Linked DNA regions of Homo sapiens: region 2 is linked to region 1. The links are contacts of gene promoters, found by promoter capture Hi-C in human tissues and cell types (Jung and others, 2019). All regions are on one chromosome and are shown on one strand. Each heading gives the region's core, a stretch centred on a gene start or on the middle of the fragment in contact. The rest is flanking DNA. Distances are from core to core; before and after follow the strand shown.

Region 1 (5,432 bases), core at 1,929-4,428:
TTCCTGAATCCTACCTAATGGAGTGATTTGAGGACTGGTTGTTTTAAATCTTTCCTTTTCTTTACTCTTTGCCTTTTGCCCACCTCGAGATCTGCAGTAGAAACTGGTCATGCACGGAGGGTGTGCAGGGAAGGGAGCATTCTAGAGCTTTGGAATGAGCCCTGACATCTGTATAAAAGCTAGCAGCATCCTCCTGTCTTCAGAATGACTCAGGTGCTCAGAGAGGCGAAGTATCCATCAGTTGTCACACAGTGAGGAAGCAGTGGCGTCGGGATCTAAGCTGAAGTGAGCCTGGCTGAGCCATGGTACCCACCCCCGGGACTGCTGCCCACAGGGCCAGCACCATGATTGGTGCATCACTGAGCCCAGGAGAGGGTGAGCTTTATGGCAAGGTTCTCCAGGACTAAGGGGGAAGGCTGCTCCTGGCCTTCTATGTGTGTGTGTGTGTGTGTGTGTGTGTGTGTGTGTGTAAAGGAGGCTGCGGAAGGAGAGGAAAGGCAAATGCAGGAACTATTTGCTCTTGAGGCAACAGTAGACTCAGGGGGTGAAGGATATCAGACATCAATGGCTTAATGAGGATTATCCATGAGTGTCTCTACTCTCACTGCCCCAACTTCCCTCTGGTGAATAACAGTCAGGAGAGGCCCCTGTCCTCTGCTCTTCCAGTGCTTGCTGACTTCCAGCCACGGGAGCCATTGTACTCCCTCTCTAAGAGTCTCTGTGTATTCGAAGGTTATTACCAAGAGCTTATAGAGGCAGAGGTTAGGAGGAGAAGGAGGAAATGAAAAATGAGGAAAGAGAGCAGTTGGAGTGAGGCTTTGGCCTTGGGGATGAAGTAGACGCTCACTCCTGGGCTCCCAGATTCCCAGGGTGGCAATGAATAGACTCCACTCATGTCCTCTGGCCACCATGCAAGAAGCCAGCCTGAGATGTGGCCAAGTGCTTGGTGACCCTGCGCACTGGCTATCACCAACTGGGCAGGGGCTTCCACATAGGGCACCAGGAGTCGCTTGCACCCGCCAGTCAGACCCCTTGTGCTGCCTCGGGAAGAGGAGACAGGGAGGAGAAGGAAAGTGAGGCTGTGGGTCCAGAGGGGAGTGTGGTGGGGCTGCAGCTTCAGGATCTGAGGGATGGGTCTCGGTTCTTCCTCCCTCCCTGGGTGGCTGGGGCCTCTCTGAACTTCTGCTGCCTTCTCCATCTGAGGACGCATTGTGAGATCCACACCACAGGTTTTCTTGTTGTGAGGATGTGATGGAATGTGGAAATGTCTGAGGCATAATAGGTGTTCAGCAAACAGCCCCTTCTACCCTCCTCCTTATGTGAGAGTTTAACGAGCCAGGTGCAGGGAGAGGAGGATGCCCAGGAGAACCTGCTGCATCAAAGCTGGAGGGATGTGGTTTATCAGGAATGATGGGAGCAGAACATCCGCTCCGTACTGGCTGCTTTAAGTGCTATTGACACATCCTCCTTTCACCCTCACAAGAGCCCAAGAGCCCCATGATACTGTTGTCCCCACTGTACAGATGAGCAATCAGAGGTTGAAGTTGGCAGCTTATCCAAGGTCTCTCCGATGGTGAGTGGCAGACCTGAGAGTCAAACTCACATCTTAAATGTCATTAAGCACAGCCTGTGTATGGAGAGGCTGAGTCCCAGAGAAGAAAACTGACCCCACCCCTCAGTGTGGGCAGATTCAAGCCTGGGGAGAGGCAAGGGAGGGGGCAGAAACTTGGAGGGTAGATGGACCTGACTTTAGGTTCTAGCTGGATGACTTACTTGCTGTGTGTCTCTAGGAACTTGGAGGGTAGATGGACCTGACTTTAGGTTCTAGCTGGATGACTTACTTGCTGTGTGTCTCTAGGAACTTGGAGGATAGATGGACCTGACTTTAGGTTCTAGCTGGATGACTTACTTGCTGTGTGTCTCTAGGAAAGTTTCTCAGCTCTCAAACCTCTGTTTTCTCATCTGCAAGATGGGGATAATATTAACCAACTGGCTAGGTCATGAGGATTAAATCTGACAACTCTACCTAACCGCCTGGTGCAGCCAGGTGCCCACAAAATGGGCGGCCCTGCCAGACTTCTGAAATAGTTGTGCCTCCCACCACAAACTGTCTGCTATTGACTGAGAAGAGAAGCATGTTCTCTTCCAAACTCAAAGACCCTTATGTTCTGGAAGATCTCTGTAGCAATGAAGAGTGCCACCTTCAAGCTGCTGCTGGTCCAGGCCAAGGGTATATTGAGGTGGGTCCATCCCTCACCCAGAGTGTGTGCTGAGGCATATTGCAGCCCATATTTTGAGGGGTTTTTCCTGCTATTCATTTTGTGTTGCCGCCAGAGAAAACTAAACTGCAGCTCCTGGCTGTCGGGGAAGAGCTGTGCTTCTGCCAGGGCTAGTGTGCCTGGCACCAGCTCAGGCATGTACCAGAGCCGAATGCCGTTTGCAGGCAAATGTACACACAAAAAGATTCCAGCACACGCGTGCACCAGCCAACACAGAGTTGCCACGGCACGCAACAGCGGGCCATGCACGTGCCTGCTGACTCGGCTGTCATCTTCCGACTCTCTTCCGTGATCAGAAGACTGTCTCAGCCTCTGTCTGTCTCCACGTCTGTCTGTCTGTGGATCAGTGTGTTTTGAGTCTGACAGTCTACCTGGCTGGTTTCCTTTTTTCTTGCTCTGTCCCTCTCTCCTTGTGTTTCTACCCATCTCCCTATCTCTGCCACTCTCTGTCTCTGTTTTTCTTTCTCTTTCTCCCCTCCTTTGTATCACTCCCTAGGTCCGACATTGCCTCTTTCTCGATTTCCGATTCTCTCTGAGTCTCTCTCTCTCTCTCTCTTTCTCTAACTCTTCTGTCTCTGTCCTTCCCTGTCTTCTTTTTCCTGTGACACTCTCCTGGAAACGCATCAAAAACTGAAGTGGCCGGATTTCAAGTGACAAACAGCACTACACCCAGAATCCGCCCCCTCCCCAACACGGCTGCCTTCCTCCTCCACATCCCTGTCACGAAGAGAAGCCTATTGTGTCAGGCCCAGGGAGTTCGAGTTGAAGGGCCTGGGGGTCTGTGCTCTGACTGCTCTCAGCCACTTCCCCATTGGCTCCCAGCAGCCTGTGCTCAGCAAGGGCTGAGCGACAGGGGAGGCTCTCGTCCATAAAAGGGGGGAAGAGGCACCAGAACTGCCATTTGAAGGGGCTTTGGTGGTGTTCACAGCTGCCTCTTTGGCACCTCCTCCCAAGCCGGAGTCAAGGAGGCCCCTGAGCCTTGGACCAGCCACTGCCACCTCCGACCTGCTCGGCCAGAAGCTGCCCAGGGACAAAGCAGAGTGCAGGTAACATCCAGAGGGGGCACTGGAATTCTATCGCTTGGTTTTATTTGCTTATTCCTGGTCCTCTGGACCTAGAGATGGTGGGAGCTCGGGCTGGGGATTTTAGGTTTGGGTCTGATTATCTAGCAAAGGTGGTTACAGTTAGGAGGCTAGTTCACAAAAGCCAGACCAGTGAGAGACTGCTCTTTGGACTCTCCCTTTCTGCACAGTCCTGGCTTAAACAGGTGGTAAGCTCTCTCCCAAGAGGACCACCCTTTGGCTTTAGCTCCAGGGTCTCCTTCTTGCAGTCTCCCACACAGCAGTTCCCATGCCATTCCCAGGGTCTGGGGAAAATGGGACACCCTGGATGGGAGAAGTGAGAGGTTTCACTAATCAGGGTGATTTTAAAGGTCAATGAGTCTCACTGGACTTAGAGAACAATGGCTTGAGGACATTAATGAGATCCAAGGCTCTGGCATTTATCACATAACATGTACATCAATGTACGGCCAGGTTCGGCCTTTTCATTCTTTTCGGATTGTGTTTAATTGCTGACAGGGTGCTGGTTTGAGCGGCTTCTTTTGATGGAATTTGATACAGGTTGAAGTTTGGGGATGTTTTGTTGGAAGGGAATGGGAAAAGGGAGTGACAACAAGCCAGGAGGCCCAGGCTTAGCAGGCATTTTCTTGTCCATTTTACTTGGAAAGGACTTGTTGCTCTCCTATTAACTACAGCCAGAGGAGTCTAAGGCCAGGAGGAGGCTCAAAGGGAAAGCCATTTGCTCACTGGTCCAGAGACCCATATTCAGAAAAGTACCAAGTCTCAAAGTTTGATTCTAGCAAAAAGCTGATGAGTTTCAGGAAAAAAAAAAAAAAAAAAAAAGCCTGCTGACTACTCCAAGGTTGAAGAGTAAATTCTGCAACTGCTTACTTTTTCCTGGGTATCAAGAATCCCTCCAAGCTCTACAAACATTACTTAATTAAGTCTCCAGTCTTCCCAGGGGAAACAAGCTCTTTCGATTATTGGATCTGATTTCAATTCCCCTCCCACAGACTGAAAGTCTTCATTATCATCTTTCTTCCAAGGGTTGCTGAAATATACAAGGCTTGCCTTTCTAATTTGACAGGCATCCCAGTCGAGATCCATTGCAAAGCATTGCAGAATGTCGATCCTCTTCTGTTCTTTCTCACCCCAGGCCTCACTCCCACCCCTCTGTGGCACCTTCCTTCTCTTTTCCCCTCCTCTTCTCCCCCCAGTCCCACCACACCTTGCCTTTGTTCTATTTTTGCAGGTCATTTATCTTCAGGCTTTGAGATCTGCGTGGGGGGAGCTGTTGCAGCAGCCCAAGCCGGTGAGTTATGCTGCCTGGGGGTGGTTTGCGTTCACTGACGGGATCTCAAGCCCACTGCTTTGCCCCAGCTGAGCTAGAGGTGTGATAGGTGGCAGGCAAACCCTATGCCTCTGTTGGCAGCTGGGAGGGGGATGTCACACTGGTTCCCAAGGCTATGTGGCGGAAGGCAGCACATTTTAAGGGAGCAGGCAAAGGGATCAGCTCTGGGGCTATTTGAGAGATTTGCGATCTTAAAACACGTGGAAGGAGTTAAGGTTTCTTGAAGTAACTCCTGGGAGGCAGGAATTTTCCATCTGTCATCTACACGTGTGTCTCACAACACCTGAAACAGTGCTGGGCTGAAATCCCAGATCCTACCACTCACTTACTGTGTGACTTTGGAACAGTAGAAGTCCCTCTCTGAGTCATACTTTCTTTACCTGTATGATGAGAATAATAATAATATTCACCTCCTAAGGTTATTGCAAGTCTCCAATGGGATATAGCAAAATGCCTGGCATTCAGTAGGTGCTCAATAAATACTGGCATGACTGCTCAGATTTTCACTGTTCCGAAGTGGTGAGGTTGGACCTTTCTCTCCATCGATTATCATATCGCTGATCATCCCACTCCATCATGCTGTGTGCTATGTCCAGGAGATATGATCTAATGTCTAATATTTTCATTTGAGGGGCTGGTGCTCCTTTCCCCTCCCCATCCCAGCAGAAGACTTTTTATTTCATCTGCTGCATCAGGATCATGAAGTCTCTTTTTGATCGATACTCCCTAAATCCACCTCCC
Region 2 (5,432 bases), core at 2,039-4,538, 430 kb before region 1:
AGAGACTCTATCTCAAAATAACAATAATAATTATAATTATAAAAGCTAAGTTTTACTAAGGGATTAAAGTGTACTGCACTTGGAAGCGCTTTCACAGATTGACTTATTTAATCCTTACAACAATTCCATGAGCGGGTATTATTATTTTTATTTTATTGATTGATTTATTATGTTATTGATAATATATTATTATTGATAATAATATCAAAAACACTGATAATAAACATAAATTGAATGCTCATTAGGTAGTAAGAATGATGCCAAATACTTTATATACATTATATCATTTACTCCTTGCATGGTGATAGACCACGGTTCTCCAAGTGTGGTCCTGGGACCAGCAGCATCAGCGTCACCTGGGAACTTGTTAGAGATGTAAATTCTCAGTCTCCAGCATGAAGAACCATCATATGCCACCATATGATACACATGAGCAGAGCTTTGGGCATCAGCTCAGATCCTGGGAGAAAGGAGGAGAAAAGTAGCCCTTTAAAATGTTTGCATCAGGGCTTTTTGAAGTTCTCTGACTCATAGACACCACTAACAATCTAATAAAAGCTGAGACCCCTTTCCCTAGAACAATGGTTCTCAATAGCACCGTCACTCAGCTGGGCTAACTGACATCTGCAGAATATTTCATCCAACAACAGCAGGATACGCATTCTTCTCAATCTTACACGGAGCACTCACCAAAAAGGATCACATTCTGTGGCATAAATGACACATTAACAAGTTTAAAATAATAGAAATTATGCAATATATGCCCCCAGAACACAATGAAATCAAACTGGAAATCAATGACAGAAAGACAGCTGAAAAATCTAAAATACCTAGGGATTAAACAACACACTTCTAGAAGAACACATGGGACAAAGAAGAAGTCTTAAGAGAAATTTAAAAGTATTTCGAAGTAAATGAAAATGAAACTACAACTTATCAAAATTTGTGGGCACGTGCCTGTAGTCTCAGCTACTTGGGAGGCTGAGGAGGGAGAATCACCTGAGCCTGGGAAGTTGAGGCTACAGTGAGCCATGATTGTGCCACTGCACTCCAGCCTGGGTGACAGAACGAGACTCTGTCTGAAAAGCAAAACAAAACAAACAAACAAACACCCCTCCCCCAACACACAAACTTGTAGGTTGCAGCAAAAGCAGTGCTTAGAGAGAAGTCTATAATATTCAATACATATGATAGAAAAGAAGAAGGATCTAAATCCAATAATCTAAACTTCTGCTTTAGGAAACTATAAAAAGGAGAACACGTTAAACTCATCTTAAGCAGAAGAAAAGAAATAATAAAAATTAGAGCAGAAATCAGTAAAATTGAAAATCAGAGATCAATAGAGAAAATCACCAAAACCAAAAGCTGGTTCTTTGAAAAGATCAGTAAAGTCAATAAGCCTCTAGCAAGGCTAACTCAGAAAAAAAAGAGAGAAGGCACAAGTTACTAATATGATAAATGCAAGAGAGGACATCTCTACAGATTCCATGGACATTAAAAGGATAGTAAAGGTAACAAGTTTGGGGAGTTAGGAAAAAAACAGAGAGTAAAGGAATATTATGAACAACTTTATGCCCACAGGTTTGATAATCCAGATAAAAGGGACCAGTTCTTGAAAGAAAAAAATCTGCTAAAATTCACATAAGAAGAAACAGACAACATGAATAGGCCTATATCTACTAAAAAATGGAATCAGTACTTAATAACCTTCCAAACCAGAACACATTAATCCCAGATGGGTTCACTGGTGAATTATACCAAGAATTTAAGAAAAAAAAATTATAGCAATTCTCTACAATCTCTTCCAGAAAATGGAAGCAGAGAAATACTTCCTGATTCATTCTATGAGGCCAGCATTACCTTAATGCCAAAAACCAGACAAAGACATTGCAAGAAAAACAAAACTACAGACCAATATGAACATAGATGCAAAAATTCCCACAAAATATTGGTAAATTGAATTAACAATGTATAAAAAATTACATGCTATGATCAAGTGGGATTTATTCTAGGCATGTAAGGCTGGGTCAATATTAAAGGTCAATTAATATAGTCCATCAAATCAACAGGAAAAAATAACATGATCATATCAATAGATGCAGAAAAAGAATTTGATAAAATCCAACACCCATTCCTGATAAAGCTCTCAGCAAACTAGGAATAGAGGAGGAATTTACTCAACTTGATAAAGAACATCTACAAAAAACCTACAGCAAACATTGTCCTTATTGGTGACAAACTGGAAGCTTTCCCATGATGATTAGGAACAAGGCAAGGATGTCCCCTCTTACTATTCCTTTTCAACATCATATTGGAAGTCTTTGCTAATGCAATAAGATAAAACAAGGAAATAAAATGTATACAGATTGGGAAGGAAGAAATAAAACAGTCTTTGTTCACAAATGATATAATTGTTTATGTAGAAAATCCAAAAGAATTGTCAACAACAACAAACAAAAAATCCTGGAACTTATGAGTGGTAATAGCAAGGTTACAGGGTATAAGATTACTAATATACAGAAGTCAATCATTTTCCTATATACCAGCAATGAACAATTGGAAATTAAAATTAAAAACATAATACCACTTATGTTAGCACCACCAAAAATGGAACACTTAGGCATTAATTTAACAAAATATGTACAAGATCTACACAAGAAGAACTGTAAAACTCTGATGAAAGAAATCAAAAAACTAAATAAATGGAGAGATATTCCATGTTCATGGATAGAAAGGCTCAATATTGTCAAAATGTCAATTTTTCCTAGCTTGATCTATAGATTCAATGCAATCTGAAGAAGTTATTTTGTGGATATTGACAAACTGATTCCAAACTTTATGTGTGGGTGGGAGGCAGGAATGAAGAGAAGTTGGATAATGGGTACAAGATAGTTAGAAAGAATAAGTTCTAATATTTCATAACACAGTAGGGAAATTATAGTTAATAATGATTTATGGTACCTTTCTAAATAGCTAGAATAAATTGTATAGTTTCGAACACGAAGAAAAGATACAGATAAATGTATAAGGTGATGGATATCCCAATTACCCTGATTCGATTGTTACACATTCTATACATGTATCAAAATATGTGTACCCACAAAATATGTATTACTAATATATATCAATTAAGATTTTTTTAAAGAACCATGACATAAAAAAGTTTATGTCAAGAGGCAAAAGACCCAGAGTAGTCAGTACAATTGTACAATTGTACATTATTGAAGGAGAGGAACAAAGTTAGAGGACTGGCACTACCTGACTTCAGGTACCTTTAAGATTTACTATAAAGGTACAGTCATCAAGACAGTGTGGTATTAGTGAAAGAATGGACAAAGACAGGCATACCTTATTTTACTGTGCTTCATTTTATTGTACTTTGCAGATATTGCATTTTTTACAAATTGAAGTTTTGTGGCAACCCTGAGTCAGGCAACTCTATAAGAGCCATTTTTCCAAGAGCATGTGTTTGCTTCTATGATCAGTGATCTTTTTTTTTTTTTCTTTAAGACAAGGTCTTGCTCTGTCACCCAGGCTGTAAGTGCAGTGGTGTGATCATAGCTCACTGCAAACTTCCAGCTCTTGGGCTCAAGCAATCCTCCTGCCTCAGCCTCCAGGTAGCTAGGACTATGGGAGCATGCCACCACACCCAGCAGGTATTTTTTATTTTAATTTTTTGTAGAGATGGGGTATTGCTGTGTTGCCCAAGCTGGTCTCAAACTCCTAGGTTCAAGCAGTTCTCTCACTTTGGCCTCCAAAAGTGAATGGGATTGGGATTACATATATGAGCCCCTGTGCCCAGCCCTTGATCAGTGATCTTTGAGGCTACTATTGTAACTGTTTGTTAGCACCACAAACCATGCCCTGTAAGATGTTGAACTTAATTAAAAAATGTCATGTGAGTTCTGACTGCTCCACCGACTGGCCATTTCCCTATCTCTCTCCCTGTCCTTGGGCCTTCCTATTCCCGGATACACAATAATATTGAAATTAGGCCAATTAATAAACCTACAATGGCCTCTAGGTGTTCAAGTTAATGAGAGTTACATGTCTCTCACTTTAAGTCAAAAGCTAGAAATGATTAAGCTTAGTGAGGAAGGCACATAGAAAGCCAAGATGGGCCAAAAGCTAGGCCTCTTGTGCCAAACAGCAAGGTTTTGAATGCAAAGGGAAAGTTCTTGAAGGAAATTAAAAGTGCTACTCTTGAAGGAAACTAAAAGTGACATAGGAATGATAAGAAAGCAAAATAGCCTTATTGCTAATATGGAGAAAGTTTTAGTGATCTCCATATAAGATCACACCAGCCATAACATTCCATTAAGCCAAAGCCTAATCCAGAGCAAGGCCCTGATTCTCTTCAATTCTATAAGGATTGAGAGATGTTAGGAAGCTACAGAAGACAAGTTTGAAGCTAGCACAGGTTGGTTCATAAGGTTTAAGGAAAGACGCCATCTCTATAACATAAAAGTGCAAGCTGAAGCAACAAGTGCTGATGTAGAAGCAACAGCAAGTTATGCAGAGACTCTAGCTAAGATCATTGGTGAAGATGGCTACATAAAACAACACATTTTCAATGTAGAAAAAATAGCTTTATATTGGAAGAAGATGCCATCTAGGACTTTCATAGCGGGACAGAAGTCAATGCCTGGCTTCAAAGTTTCAAAGGAGAGGCTGACTCTGTGCATTAAGGAGCTAATGCAGCTGGTGACTTTAAGTTGAAGCCAATGCTCATTTAAATTTCTAAATCCTAGGGCCCTTAAGAATTATGCTAAATCTACTATGCCTGTGGTCCATAAAGGAACAACGAAGCCAGGATGATAGCACATCTGTTTATAGCATGGTTTACTGAATATTTTAGGCCAACTGTTGAGACCTACTGATCAGAAAAGAAGATTCTTGTCAAAGTATTACTGCTCATTGACAATGCACCTAGTCACTCAAGAACTCTGATGGAGGTGTACAATGAGATTAATGTTATTTTCATGCCTGTTAACATTCATTCTGCAGACCATGAATCAATGAGTAATTTTAACTTTCAAGTCTTTTTATTTAAGAAATACATTTCATAAAGCCATAGCTGCCATAGATAGTGATTCCTCTAATGGATCTGGGCAAAGTCAATTGAAAACCTTCTGGAAAAGATTCACCATTCTAGACACCATTAAGTATATTCATGATTCATGGGAGGAGGTAAAAATATCAACATTAATAGGAGTTGGAAAGAAGTTGATTCCAACTCTTATGGATGACTTTGAGGCATTCAAGATTTCAATGCAGGAAGTCACTGATGATGTGGTGGAAACAGCAAGAGAATTAGAGTGCAGCCTAAAGATGTGACTGAATTGCTCCATCTGATGGTAAAACTTGAACAGATGAAGAGTTGCTTCTTATGTGTGAGCAAAGAAAGTGTTTTTCAAAGATGGAAACTACTC

What was found. Contacts are between HindIII fragments. The study calls those that stand out against the background at their distance.
Region 2: a fragment that was not itself captured here is called in contact with the fragment with the promoter of PDYN in region 1 in 1 of the 25 tissues and cell types used here (dorsolateral prefrontal cortex).

What each region holds. Positions count from the first base shown.
Region 1 is chr20:1,991,804-1,997,235 of GRCh38, reverse strand. It overlaps PDYN (prodynorphin), which reads left to right and starts at 3,178. Exons shown (of 4, transcript NM_024411.5): 1 at 3,178-3,325; 2 at 4,593-4,652. The region is part of intron 3 of PDYN-AS1 (PDYN antisense RNA 1); the gene reads right to left. RefSeq lists an enhancer at 2,808-3,638. The HindIII fragment of the contact is 29,966 bases long and covers 1-5,432 here.
Region 2 is chr20:2,423,424-2,428,855 of GRCh38, reverse strand. The region is part of intron 10 of TGM6 (transglutaminase 6); the gene reads right to left. Among named protein-coding and RNA genes, the nearest start is that of SNORD119, 37 kb to the left of the region's middle. The HindIII fragment of the contact is 5,615 bases long and covers 481-5,432 here.